Linked DNA regions of Homo sapiens: regions 1, 3 and 4 are each linked to region 2. The links are contacts of gene promoters, found by promoter capture Hi-C in blood cells and fetal thymus (Javierre and others, 2016). All regions are on one chromosome and are shown on one strand. Each heading gives the region's core, a stretch centred on a gene start or on the middle of the fragment in contact. The rest is flanking DNA. Distances are from core to core; before and after follow the strand shown.

The links. The method cuts DNA at HindIII sites, captures the fragments that hold promoters and counts their contacts. A CHiCAGO score of 5 or more calls a contact.
Region 1: a contact is called between a fragment that was not itself captured here and the fragment with the promoter of CDH26 in region 2, in 1 of 17 cell types (neutrophils). The highest score is 6.6, in neutrophils.
Region 3: a fragment that was not itself captured here is called in contact with the fragment with the promoter of CDH26 in region 2 in 1 of 17 cell types (monocytes); the score reaches 5.3 in monocytes.
Region 4: a fragment that was not itself captured here is called in contact with the fragment with the promoter of CDH26 in region 2 in 1 of 17 cell types (neutrophils); the score reaches 5.5 in neutrophils.

What each region holds. Positions count from the first base shown.
Region 1 is chr20:60,281,561-60,284,260 of GRCh38, reverse strand. The region is part of intron 3 of MIR646HG (MIR646 host gene); the gene reads right to left. All of the region lies in intron 1 of LOC105372698 (a long non-coding RNA gene), which reads right to left. Among named protein-coding and RNA genes, the nearest start is that of MIR646, 26 kb to the left of the region's middle. The HindIII fragment of the contact is 6,357 bases long and covers 1-2,700 here.
Region 2 is chr20:59,956,942-59,959,894 of GRCh38, reverse strand. CDH26 (cadherin 26) reads right to left here and starts at 1,472. Exons shown (of 18, transcript NM_177980.4): 1 at 1,100-1,472. The coding sequence starts at 1,168. The HindIII fragment of the contact is 452 bases long and covers 1,382-1,833 here.
Region 3 is chr20:60,218,751-60,221,639 of GRCh38, reverse strand. All of the region lies in intron 3 of MIR646HG (MIR646 host gene), which reads right to left. Among named protein-coding and RNA genes, the nearest start is that of MIR646HG, 82 kb to the right of the region's middle. The HindIII fragment of the contact is 5,114 bases long and covers 1-2,889 here.
Region 4 is chr20:60,238,950-60,241,761 of GRCh38, reverse strand. All of the region lies in intron 3 of MIR646HG (MIR646 host gene), which reads right to left. Among named protein-coding and RNA genes, the nearest start is that of MIR646, 68 kb to the left of the region's middle. The HindIII fragment of the contact is 5,944 bases long and covers 1-2,812 here.

The sequences.
Region 1 (2,700 bases), core at 74-2,573, 320 kb before region 2:
TGCTGAAATTGTCCTAGGCTAACTAAGTATTTTATTAGCCTGGCCATTTCTGGATCAGTAATAAATCATTAGTTTAATATGGCCTTCCATATAACATTTCATGTAGGTTCATATTAATTTTTGCTCTAGGGGAACTATGGATCCTTAAGAGGGCTATGGGCAGATAAGCTGACCCAAGTTTGTGATGTTTCCTGACATAGCTTAGCTAAAACCTGTTTTAGAGTTTGATTAGCTCTTTCCACTTTTCTGGAGGATTGAGGTCTCCATGATGAATGTAAATGGTATTTGATTCCGAGAGCCTTAGCAACCCCTTGAGCTTTCTAGGAGACAAAAGACAGGCTGTTATCACTTTGGCAGCTTTAGGGTACCCCATACTGAGGGATTATTTCCTTTAAGAGAATCTTTATAACTTCATTAGCCTTCTCTGTTCCGGTAAGGTAAGTTTCAACCCAGCCAATAAATAATAAAGGTGTCTACTAGTACTAGCAAAAACTTGTATCCTTTGCAAGCTAGCATATGGGTGAAGTATAATTACCAGTTTTCCTTTTTAACTTTAGCCAATATGTTCACACACAGAATCTCTTTTATAATTAATTTTTAATAAACCTTACACAACTTGTTCAAGCCTCTAGATTTTTCCTATCTCACTTAAAACAATCCTTTAACAAAACTTAGGCAAAAATCCACATTCTCATGACTTTTATCAAATGTATATTCTACTTTTCCTACACAAGTCCTCTTCATGACTTACACAGACCATCTATGACATGCTTGGACTCTCTGACTTGTCCTAAACATCCCTTGTTTTAAACAACCAGGCATTTTACTTTAGGACAAGCATTTACCATACAAGATCCTTTCTCATACAAAGTTATTGTCTCTACAACCTTTCCTACCAAAAACACATCTTCATACACATAATGTTCTTCACATCTCTCTCCCCTATTTACTGGTTCCTTCCTACCTTTTTTAATAAATAACCCCTTTTTAAAGTCCATAATTTGCAGCCAAAAGACACATGAAAAAATGCTCATCATCACTGGCCATCGGAGAAATGCAAATCAAAACCACAATGAGATACCATCTCACACCAGTTAGAATGGCAATCATTAAAAAGTCAGGAAACAACAGGTGCTGGAGAGGATGTGGAGAAATAGGAACACTTTTACACTGTTGGTGGGACTGTAAACTAGTTCAACCATTGTGGAAGTCAGTGTGGCGATTCCTCAGGGATCTAGAACTAGAAATACCATTTGACCCAGCCATCCCATTACTGGGTATATACCCAGAGGACTATAAATCATGCTGCTATAAAGACACATGCACATGTATGTTTATTGCGGCACTATTCACAATAGCAAAGACTTGGAACCAACCCAAATGTCCAACAATGATTGATAGACTGGATTAAGAAAATGTGGCACATATACACCATGGAATACTATGCAGCCATAAAAAATGATGAGTTCATGTCCTTTGTAGGGACATGGATGAAATTGGAAATCATCATTCTCAGTAAACTATCGCAAGGACTAAAAGCCAAACACCGCATGTTCTCATTCATAGATGGGAATTGAACAATGAGAACACATGGACACGGGAAGGGGAACATCACACTCTGGGGACTGTTGTGGGGTGGGGGGAGGGGGGAGAGATAGCATTAAGAGATGTACCTAATGCTAAATGACGAGTTAATGGGTGCAGCACACCAGCATGGCACATGTATACATATGTAACTAACCGGCGCATTGTGCACATGTACCCTAAAACTTAAAGTATAATAATAATTTTAAAAAAAATAAATAAATAAATAAAATAAAATAAAGTCCATAATTTGAATTAACTTTCAGATAACTTCTAAATTACACAAAATTATTTTTTCTCTCACTAATAACACATCTTTTGGCACATTTTGAATATAGAATTATGTGCTAACTAGAATTCTAATCCTTGGTAACCTTAAATTTTAGTGAAACCCTAAAAAGCAAAAATCCTGAACTATCAAATATAAGCATTTTATAAATGAGAACGATTCCACACTTTTAGAAATATATTTCCCCTTATGTAGACCAGCACTGTTTCTCTAATGTTCAGCTCAGGAATCAGGCATCACAGATTCTCAAAAAGCATTTACTCAGAAAGTAAGGGCATGTCTGTACCCACCTACCCACCTGCTCACTGAAAAAAATTTAAAACACCTTTTTTGACATCAGATTTATCTCTATTCTGGAATCCAGGCTTCCACAAACTTCTTGTCCTGCCTGGGGTTTTCTCTCCCCTGGAAATCTTTTATGAGGTCAGGAAAGGCACAGGGAGGTTCTGAAGTTGGGAGCGCCAGTTCGACATGTGACTAACATTGTCCCATGAAGCATTTTGGGGGCTTACAAGGCCTGCAGATTCTTAGACAGTGAATCTGTGACTTGTGGTCTATTTCACAGGGTCATCAACTAAATCAAACAGAAATGAAGTGTAAATTGCTGGGCAATAATGCCTTCCGGGGGAAGTGCTTCTTACACAGTGCCTGGCACAGGGTTGGTCTCAATGTGTGTTTCCAGACCTCCCTCATTTCCTCTGAACATCCAGATAAACCAGAAAGCATGCCTTCAGTTTCCTCCCAACTAAAGGTGAAATGTAGCCCCGTGGTGCTGAGGGTTCTGACGGCTGGTCTTCCCTCTGCCTGCCATGTCACCTTGACTCTTC
Region 2 (2,953 bases), core at 223-2,722:
AGTACAAACAGAGCAAGCCCATGTGTTTCGAATCCTGACTCCACTAGTTTGTATTCCCATTTAAACAGTGGCAGTTGGGGGCAATGGATTTAGCCATTCCATCCCCATGGGTTTGCTCAAATTGCCTTGGATCCAGACAACTGAGATTTCCTCAATCTTATGTAAAGTGTGAACAGAAGTATCATTATAAAACTTGGCAGGGCGCAGTGTCTCAAGCCTGTCATCCTAACACTTTGGGAGGCTGAGGCAGGCAGATCACTTGAGGTCAGGAGTTTGAGACCAGCCTGGCCAACATGGTGAAACCCTGTCTCTAATAAAAATACAAAAACTAGCCGGGCATGGTGGCGTGCACCTGTAGTCCCAGTACTCGGGAGGCTGAGCCAGGAGGTTGCTTGAACCCAGTAGGAGGAGGTTGCGGTGCACTGAGATGTCACCACGCACTGTAGCCTGGATGACGAGACCCTGTCTCAAAAAAAAAAAAAAATTGTGTGTGTTGGCTGGGTGAGGTGGCTCATGCCTGTAAACCCAACACTTCGGAAGGGCAAGGCGAATAAATCACTTGAGCTTAGGAGTTCGAGACCAGCCTGGGCAACATGGTGAAAATCCATCTCTATAAAAAATACAGAAATTAGCCAGCGTGGTGGTAAGTTACTGTAGTCCCAGCTACTCTTGAGGCTGAGGTGGAAGGATCACCTGAGCCTGGGAGGTTAAAGCTGCAGTGAGCCTTGATCATGCCACTGCACTCCAGCCTGGATGATGAAGCCAGACCCTGTCTCAACAAAAGGAGAAAGAAACAAAGAAAGAAAACACGTGTGTGTTGATGTAATCTCACTAAAAATAGTGTGAACTATATAAATTAGTTTTAAACAGGTCCCTTAGCCTGCTCCCACTGTTGCCCCAAACAGACTGGGACCCTTAACTTCCCTTTATATAAATCCAGAGCCCCTGCTACCTAAGCCATTCTCAAGACAGCCAGCCCTGGGTCCCAGCAGGTCACACTCAGTCCCTCTCCCCTCCCTTAGCCTAGAAGGGGCAGGGCCAGCTTGTGCTTTGCTTTCAGTTCCCTGCACCTGAGCACTAGGCTGCAGGCTCAGCTTACCTGCAGCAGCCACAGCAGCAGCACTAGAAGCAGCAGCAGCGAGGGGTGCCTCCCGGATCTCATGGCCATATGGGAATACCCAAGACAGACCCAGAACGTGCAGCTGATGACCAGTCCTCCAAGCTGGTGGTCTCACCGGAGCCACACACCTCCTTCTCAGCCAGCAGCTTCTTCTCTAAAGGTTTTCAGGTCACTTTGGCCCAGATGCTTTCATCCCATCTTGCTCCTCCCTTTTCAGCTTTTCTTGCATTTATCAGAGTGGGGTGGGCTGACTTGTAAGCTTGAACATACGTTTGCCACAAGTAGAGTTCCTAGGAAGGGTGGGGTAGAAACTAAAGCCACCATGGTCCTGCACGTACACAAAAGACTGGCTGGGGTCTGACCTCAGGAACAACAGCTCAGCCAGCGGAAGTAAAACCAGCACCTATCGGAAAGCAGAATTATTTGTTTCTTTGTTTCCTTGTTTGTTCTGGTTTCCAAATAGAAGGTCCAATCATCTCTTTCTATAGCAGGATATGTTAGTGACTATTTTCTATAATCTTATCCTCTTGAACCAAACAAAAAAAACTAGAAAATGACAAGAATGATAACTTTATTAAGGGGGAAGGGATGGGGAAGAATGAAAGAAAAGAAAAATCAACTTTTACTTTCCAAAGCACTAAAAATCGTTATTCCAACAATATCCCAGGGCTCTGGGGTTTTCAAATTATTTCTACTAAAACCTTTTTTAAGCTTAGATTAATCTGCCTTTTTGAGTTTGGAATTAAAGTGGGAGGGAGGAGAGATGGGAAAGAGCCTCCCTATGGACAGGGATCTCTGTGGCAACCCGGGAGTCTTTGCATGAGAATTCTGAAAGAGACAATTTGAGATTATATTATACCAATACTTAAGGTTGCAGTAAGCAAGTTTTAAAACACAATCTGTGATACATTAACCCTGATTACCTTAACATGACCTTTTTATCACATTACCTTGTTTAAAGTAGTAAACAGATAAAATAAAAGGTAAACTTTCTTTGCTTGTTCTAGATATTGGCTTAGGCAAGGATTTCATGACCAAGAACCAAAAAGCAAATGCAATAAAATCAAAGATAAATAGCTGGGACCTAATTAAACTAAAGAGCTTTTGCACTGCAAAAGGAACAGTCAGCAGAGTAAACAGACAACCCACAGAGTGGGAGAAAATCTTCACAATCTATACATCTGACAAAGGATTAATATCCAGAATCCACAATGAACTCCAACAAATCAGTAAGAAAAAAACAATCCCATCAAAAAGTGGGATAAGGACATGAATAGACAATTCTCAAAAGAAGATATACAAATGGTCAACAAGCATATGAAAAAATGCTCAACATCACCAATGATCAGCAAAACGCAAATCAAAACCGCAGTGCGATACCACCTTACTCCTGCAAGAATGACCATAATCAAAAAATCAAAAAACAGTAGACGTTGGTGTGGATGTGACAATCAGGGAACACTTCTACACTGCTGGGGGGAATATAACATAGTACAGCTGCTATGGAAAACAGTGTGGAGATTCCTTAAAGAACAAAAGTAGAACTACCATTTGATCCAGCAATCCCACTACTGGGTATCTTCCCAGAGGAAAAGAAGTCATTATTCGAAAAAGATACTTGCACATGCACGTTTATAGCAGCAAAATTCACAATTGCAAAATCGTGGAACCAACCCAAATGCCCATCAATCAACTAGTGGATAAAGAAAATGTGTATATGCGTATCTATATGTATATATACACATATATGCGTGTATATATGTGTATGTACATATATACACATATATGTGTGTATATATGTGTATGTACATATATACACGCATATATGTATAT
Region 3 (2,889 bases), core at 356-2,855, 260 kb before region 2:
TGCTCTTCCACATCTTCCCTGCACTCCCAGTCAGGGGCAAATGCTATGTTTTGCATAACTTCCTGCTTTGGACCTCCTTGTAGCTTTTTGCAATGCACAAATCCTTTGTTTAATTTTTGTATCTTATATAAAACCTAGTTGTTCCAAATCATAAATGTTCGTTTTTACCTGTGCCTTTCTGTGGCTTACAAACCTCAAAGAAGATATTGCCAGTTTTCCAAAGTGGTTGCACTGATTTCCACTCCCACCATCAGCATACAGAACTTCTGGTTGCTCCATGTCCTTTTCAACTTGTCCTTCTTTATAGCCACTGATGGAGATGCAGTAGTATGGCCTGGTTTTGATGTGTATTTCCTAGATGACTAAAGTGGTTAAGCACCACCATTCCATGTTTATTGGACAACTGAGCATCTTCTTTCGCGATGTGACCGTTCAACTCTTTTACTGATTTTTCTATAGGGTTTTCAGTCTTTTTCTTATTAATTTCCAGAAGTATCTGGCAGCCCCTAAAACTGAATATGTACATGCCCTGTGACCTGTCAACTCCACTCTTCAGTATATACTCAACAGAAATGCATTCACATATTCATGAAAAGACATGCACACAAATGTTCTCAGCAGTGCAATTTATAATCCCCAGCCTGTAGATGCCCCGAAGGCCCCTCCCCAGTGGCATGGAAGATTCAGTGGCCGCACAGTCAGATAATGAATACCATCCACGCTGAGAGTGAATGGGCTGCAAGTGCACAGAGCATGAATGAATCTCACGAACGTAATGTACAGTGAAAGAAGCCAGGCACATAAATAGCACATACAGGATGACTCCATTGTATCAAGTTCAACAAACCAGACAAAACTAATCTACGGTTCCAAAGTCAGGATAGTGGCTAACTAGGGGGAAGAGGAGAAGAAGGAGAGGGCGTGGCTCCCGTCCTGCAGCTTGGCTTAGGTGCTGGCTACATCCACATGGATTGCTCACTTTGTGAAAAGTCGTTGAGATGTAAACTTTTGACGTGCACTTTTCTGCATGTGAGTTATACGTGAACAAAACATATAAAACTGTAAAGTTGAGTAAACATATAAAACTGTAAAGTTTGTCCCAGGCTTTCAGAAGGAACGTGCACATAGGGTGGGGAGCCACTCCAGAGCCACTGGGAGTAATTAGGAGCCATAAGAAGTGGAAACGCACAGTGTGAACACTCTGAATCATCTCCTCCATATGCATCACCAAAGCACGTCAGCCACAGCGAGGAGGTCATCAACCGCAGGTCATTTTTCCCTCTCCTTCCAGGGGCATTTGGCAATGTTGAAGACATTTTCGGTTATCCCAACTGGGGGTTGCTACTAGCATCTAGTGGGTAGTAGTGGTTAGGAGTGTTGCTAAACATCTTAATTGGCACAGGACAGCCCCTCTCAACAAAGAGTCATCCTTCCCAAGTCGTCAGTAGTGCTGAGTTGGGAAACCCTTATCTGGTCCAGCATTCGTGTTTTACTGATGGGGAAACTGGCCAGAGATGGATGCCCAAGATCCTGTGACCAAGGAGCTGCAGCCACCATGCCTGAGCCAGCGTTCCTGGCCTGTGTCCCTGACCTCCCTGGTGCAGGAGTTTCTTGTTGGCCCTGTTACCTGGACCCAATCTTCAGACTTAAGGTGTCCAAATGATAAGCTGTAAAACACTGCGTCCCATCGACTCCCCTGGGAAATCAGGGACATCCTGCCTAATTAAAAAATAGGACAATGACATTTTTAAGAGCGTAGAAGTGCCCTGTTTTGTTGTTATTGCTTTAGATTTCATAGGGAACTTGTAAGGAAAATATTATCAGCCAGAAAACATCACAAGAAACTCTTGGTGTTAATGCACTGTGCCAGGCTGACACGGTTACATAAAATACTCAAGAAGTGGAACATTTCATGGGTGGTATGGACAGGTCCAGAGTCATTTTTATTCATCATATAGTTATGTTTTCCAAGGGCAGGAAAGGGAGGGGAATACCTTTCTTTGAAGCTATTTACCATCTTTCACCTAGAAGATCATGTTTTGAAGCTGTGAAGCCTAAACACATCATTACAAAGTTTCAGCAAGCTGCTTTCTGAAAATAGTTGTCATAGTACTGGTTAATCTGTACATTCAAATAGAATGAAGCCTCCAATGTGGACTATTTTTATCCAAGCCGTCATGGCAGATGGATTCATATGCCAGCCAGACATGTTCCGAGTCGCAATGAAGTTCCAACCTGTTGTTTTCCCCAGACTTCTGCCTCCCCAGCTTGAAACATCGGCACTTAAGTGTATGCAGCAATCTCCCAATATTAACATGTATATCAAACCCAAACAATTGGCTGAGCCTTTCATGCATGCCAGGCTATATGCTGGGCACTGGGTTTGGGGAGGAAGACAGTGAGATACAAAGAAGCTGGTGCACCCAGGCTCCAAACTCTCAACAATCTTGAAGACCGAGGAGTAAAAACACACACATACACCGGTGGAACAGGGCAGAGAACACAGAAATAACTCCATGCGCTCAGAGCTAAGTGGCCTTTCAAAAAGGTACTGAGAACACCCACTGGGGAAAGAACAGTCTCTTTAATACACGGTACCAGAAAAACTGGCTAGTCACATGCAGCATGAAATTGGACCCCTATCTGTCACCCTATACAAAAATCACCCAAAATGGATTAAAGATTTAGGTGTTGTAAGACCCAAAACCATAGACTACTAGAAGAAAACATCCACGAAATGCTTGATGACATTGGCCTGAGCAAGGATTTTTTTGGATTAGAGCTCACAGCACAGGAAACAAAACCAAAGGCAGGCAAATGGGATTACATCCAACTAAAAAGCTCTGTACAACAAAAGAAACGATCAACAGAATGGAGAGACAGCCTATG
Region 4 (2,812 bases), core at 213-2,712, 280 kb before region 2:
ATATAGTAAGTACGGATATACTACATTTTGTTTATCCATTCATCAGTTCATGTGTGTTTGGGTTGTTTCCACTTTTGCATTATTATGAATAATGTTGCTGTGAATATTCTATGGGTTAAATTTGATTAAACATAGTGAGAGCTTGGATCTGCAGGAAAACATTCATTCTACAGTAGAAGGGCAGCATGGTCAAGCCATGGCCTCAGAAGACTGCAGATCGGCGGATCTCAGAGAGACTTTATCTATCAGCAACACAACTTGAAAGGATGTCTGCGCTGAGACTTACCATGTGTAGGTGGCTGTGTGCTGGATTCTGCAAGGATTATCTCATTTGATTCCCCCGTAACAATTTCTTCATTTTACAGATGGAAAAACTGAGGCTTTCTCAAGGTCACACAGGAGGAAGGGGTGGAGATCAGATTTAAATCCACATTAGTAGGACTCCAAAGACCATATTCTTAGCTGGGACAACGTAGAGATGCTGGGGCAGGGACCACCCACAGGGGAAATGTGGACCCCGGCACACATCTGCACTGTTTGTCTCTTGACTGTTTCCTGTCCTCTTTGCTGCTGAGTCACCCATCGCCAAATCCCAGCCCACTGCTGAAAACTGGCTTGAAAGGCAGGGGTTTAATTATTCCACAAGATAGTCTCCCCGAACCAAATCTCGTTAATAAAAGACGAGAAATAAATTTTAATAAAGGACTTGCCGAGATGCCTCTGCAGCAGCACCTACTGTCAAAAACTTTTCTCCCCCTTGAACAAAAAGGATCGTTCTCAGCAGGGCAAAATAATCTCCACTCCTTTATGGCAAGTCTACCGACTGCTGGTGTGGAAGGAGCCCCGGCTTCAGGTTTGTATTTACATGTGCTGCTGTTTCACTCTTCCTTGGAGAAAAATGCACATCTCCCTGGCATATTCAAAATATGCCATTAATTACTGAACATCGTCTTGGTTTGGAAAGGAAAAAGAAAGCATATAATTGGAGACTCCCTTTCACTCCAAAGATGTTTGGAGGGACATGGGAGGAAGTCACTGGAGTGTGACTGGTTGTCACCCCTGAGCCGGCTGGTGACAGCAGATGTAAGCACTGCACAGCAGAGAGCATCCTCCTTGGAAGGCAGCTCGCTCAGCGGAAACGCTGCCATGGCTCAGGGCAGACCAGGGCTTGGCATTGATGATGTCGCTTTGTTTTATTGCATGGTCTGAAAATCTGCCTCTGGATTGTGGAACCAAATTGCACGGCCCAAAAGGCACAGGTCCAGCAGGCAATACAGGAGCCTGCTCTGCTCTGACAGAAGCTGTGGCAAAGCAAATCTTCCTAAGCCAAGCAGTTCAAAAAGGTGCCAGGGTCTTCCCTGCTCACAAGTCTTCAAGAGGCTTGCTTTGCACATGTCATCTCTCTGCAGTTTCGCAGTTTCCATTCAAGTTTACTTAGGTTTGTTCCCTACGTCTCTGCCCAACAGAACAAGAGGACTCGGTCAGATCCCCCCAACTCTGATCAGAGGTGAGCCAGGACAGGACGTCATGTTTTCTTGCTGCTGCCAGGTTCAGAGAGCAGGGGCGGTGCTGTGACTGCAGCCCCGCATGGTGGGCAGTCCTCGAACGAGGCGCTCCTTTCGTGTAGCTGCCATGCCTGCTCTGTGTTTTGCATTTTGTTAGGAGTCTGTGATGTGTGCTGCACCCTGCGAAGCCAGGGGCTTGAAGATATCACTGCAGAGTGCTTAGGAAGAGAGAGAAAAGAGAGTTGACAGAGTCCTCGTCAGTTCTGAACAATGCTGTAAAGCAGCATGGGCTCCAAGCAGCTCAGATAAATTGGAAATCAGGTCCTTCCTCCAAGACAACAACCTGCCACATCCTTCATTGTTAGACTGTGATGCTGGGCTGTGTGATCAGCCTTAAGTCGTGGCAAGGATGCAGGTGGCTATGAATTGAAGCCTAGATCTGTCCAGACCAAATGCAAGACGGGACAACCACCCTCAGGCTTTCCCTCCAGACCCCGCTGTCATTGCTACAGCACCCTGATTTCTCTGAGGACATTTGGGGGTTCTCATTAGGGCGACCCACTTGTCCTGGTTTGCCTGAGACTTTCCTGGGTTTAACATTTGAAGTCCTGCATCCTTGGAAATGCCTCAGTCCCAGGCAAGCCGGAGCCATAGTTCACCACATTTGCCTTTGCAACCCTTACTGGCCAATTCCCAATATATTTTTGTTCATTCCTGTAAGACTCACCCTCTGAATATTTAGTGAGCACCCACTGTGCACCAGGCACTGTTCCAGGTGCTGAAGATGCTGTCAAAGCAGGCAAAGCCCCTGCTCACACAGGAAACAGACAGCGCCACTGAATCAAAGCACCACCAGCACGCTGTATGGTAACAAAGGCTGGGGATCAAATACAACTGCGCACAGGAGAGACAGAGTCCCCAGGTGGGGTAAAACCATGTTAAATGTCCAGCAACAGCCTCGGCAATGAGTTGGTATTAAAACAAAATCAAGAAGAAAGGGAGAGGTGGGGCCTTGTGGTCATGCAGGGGCGGAGTGGCGTGTGCCTGGAGTCCTGGAGGAAGACAGAGAGGCCAGGCACGTCTGGAGCAGAGAGGATGTGGGGAGGATTGATAGAGAGGAAGGGCAGAGCAGTGCAGAATCATCGTTGTCCACCCAGGCTGCACCATAGCCTGGGTGGCTCATAACCAACAGAAAGTCATTTCTCCCAGGCTGCAAGCTGGCCACGCACTATCAGAGCTGTGGCAGAAGCAGCGTCTGGTGAGGGCCCTGGCTTCTGGCTCACAGACTTGCCTCCTCTCTGTAACCT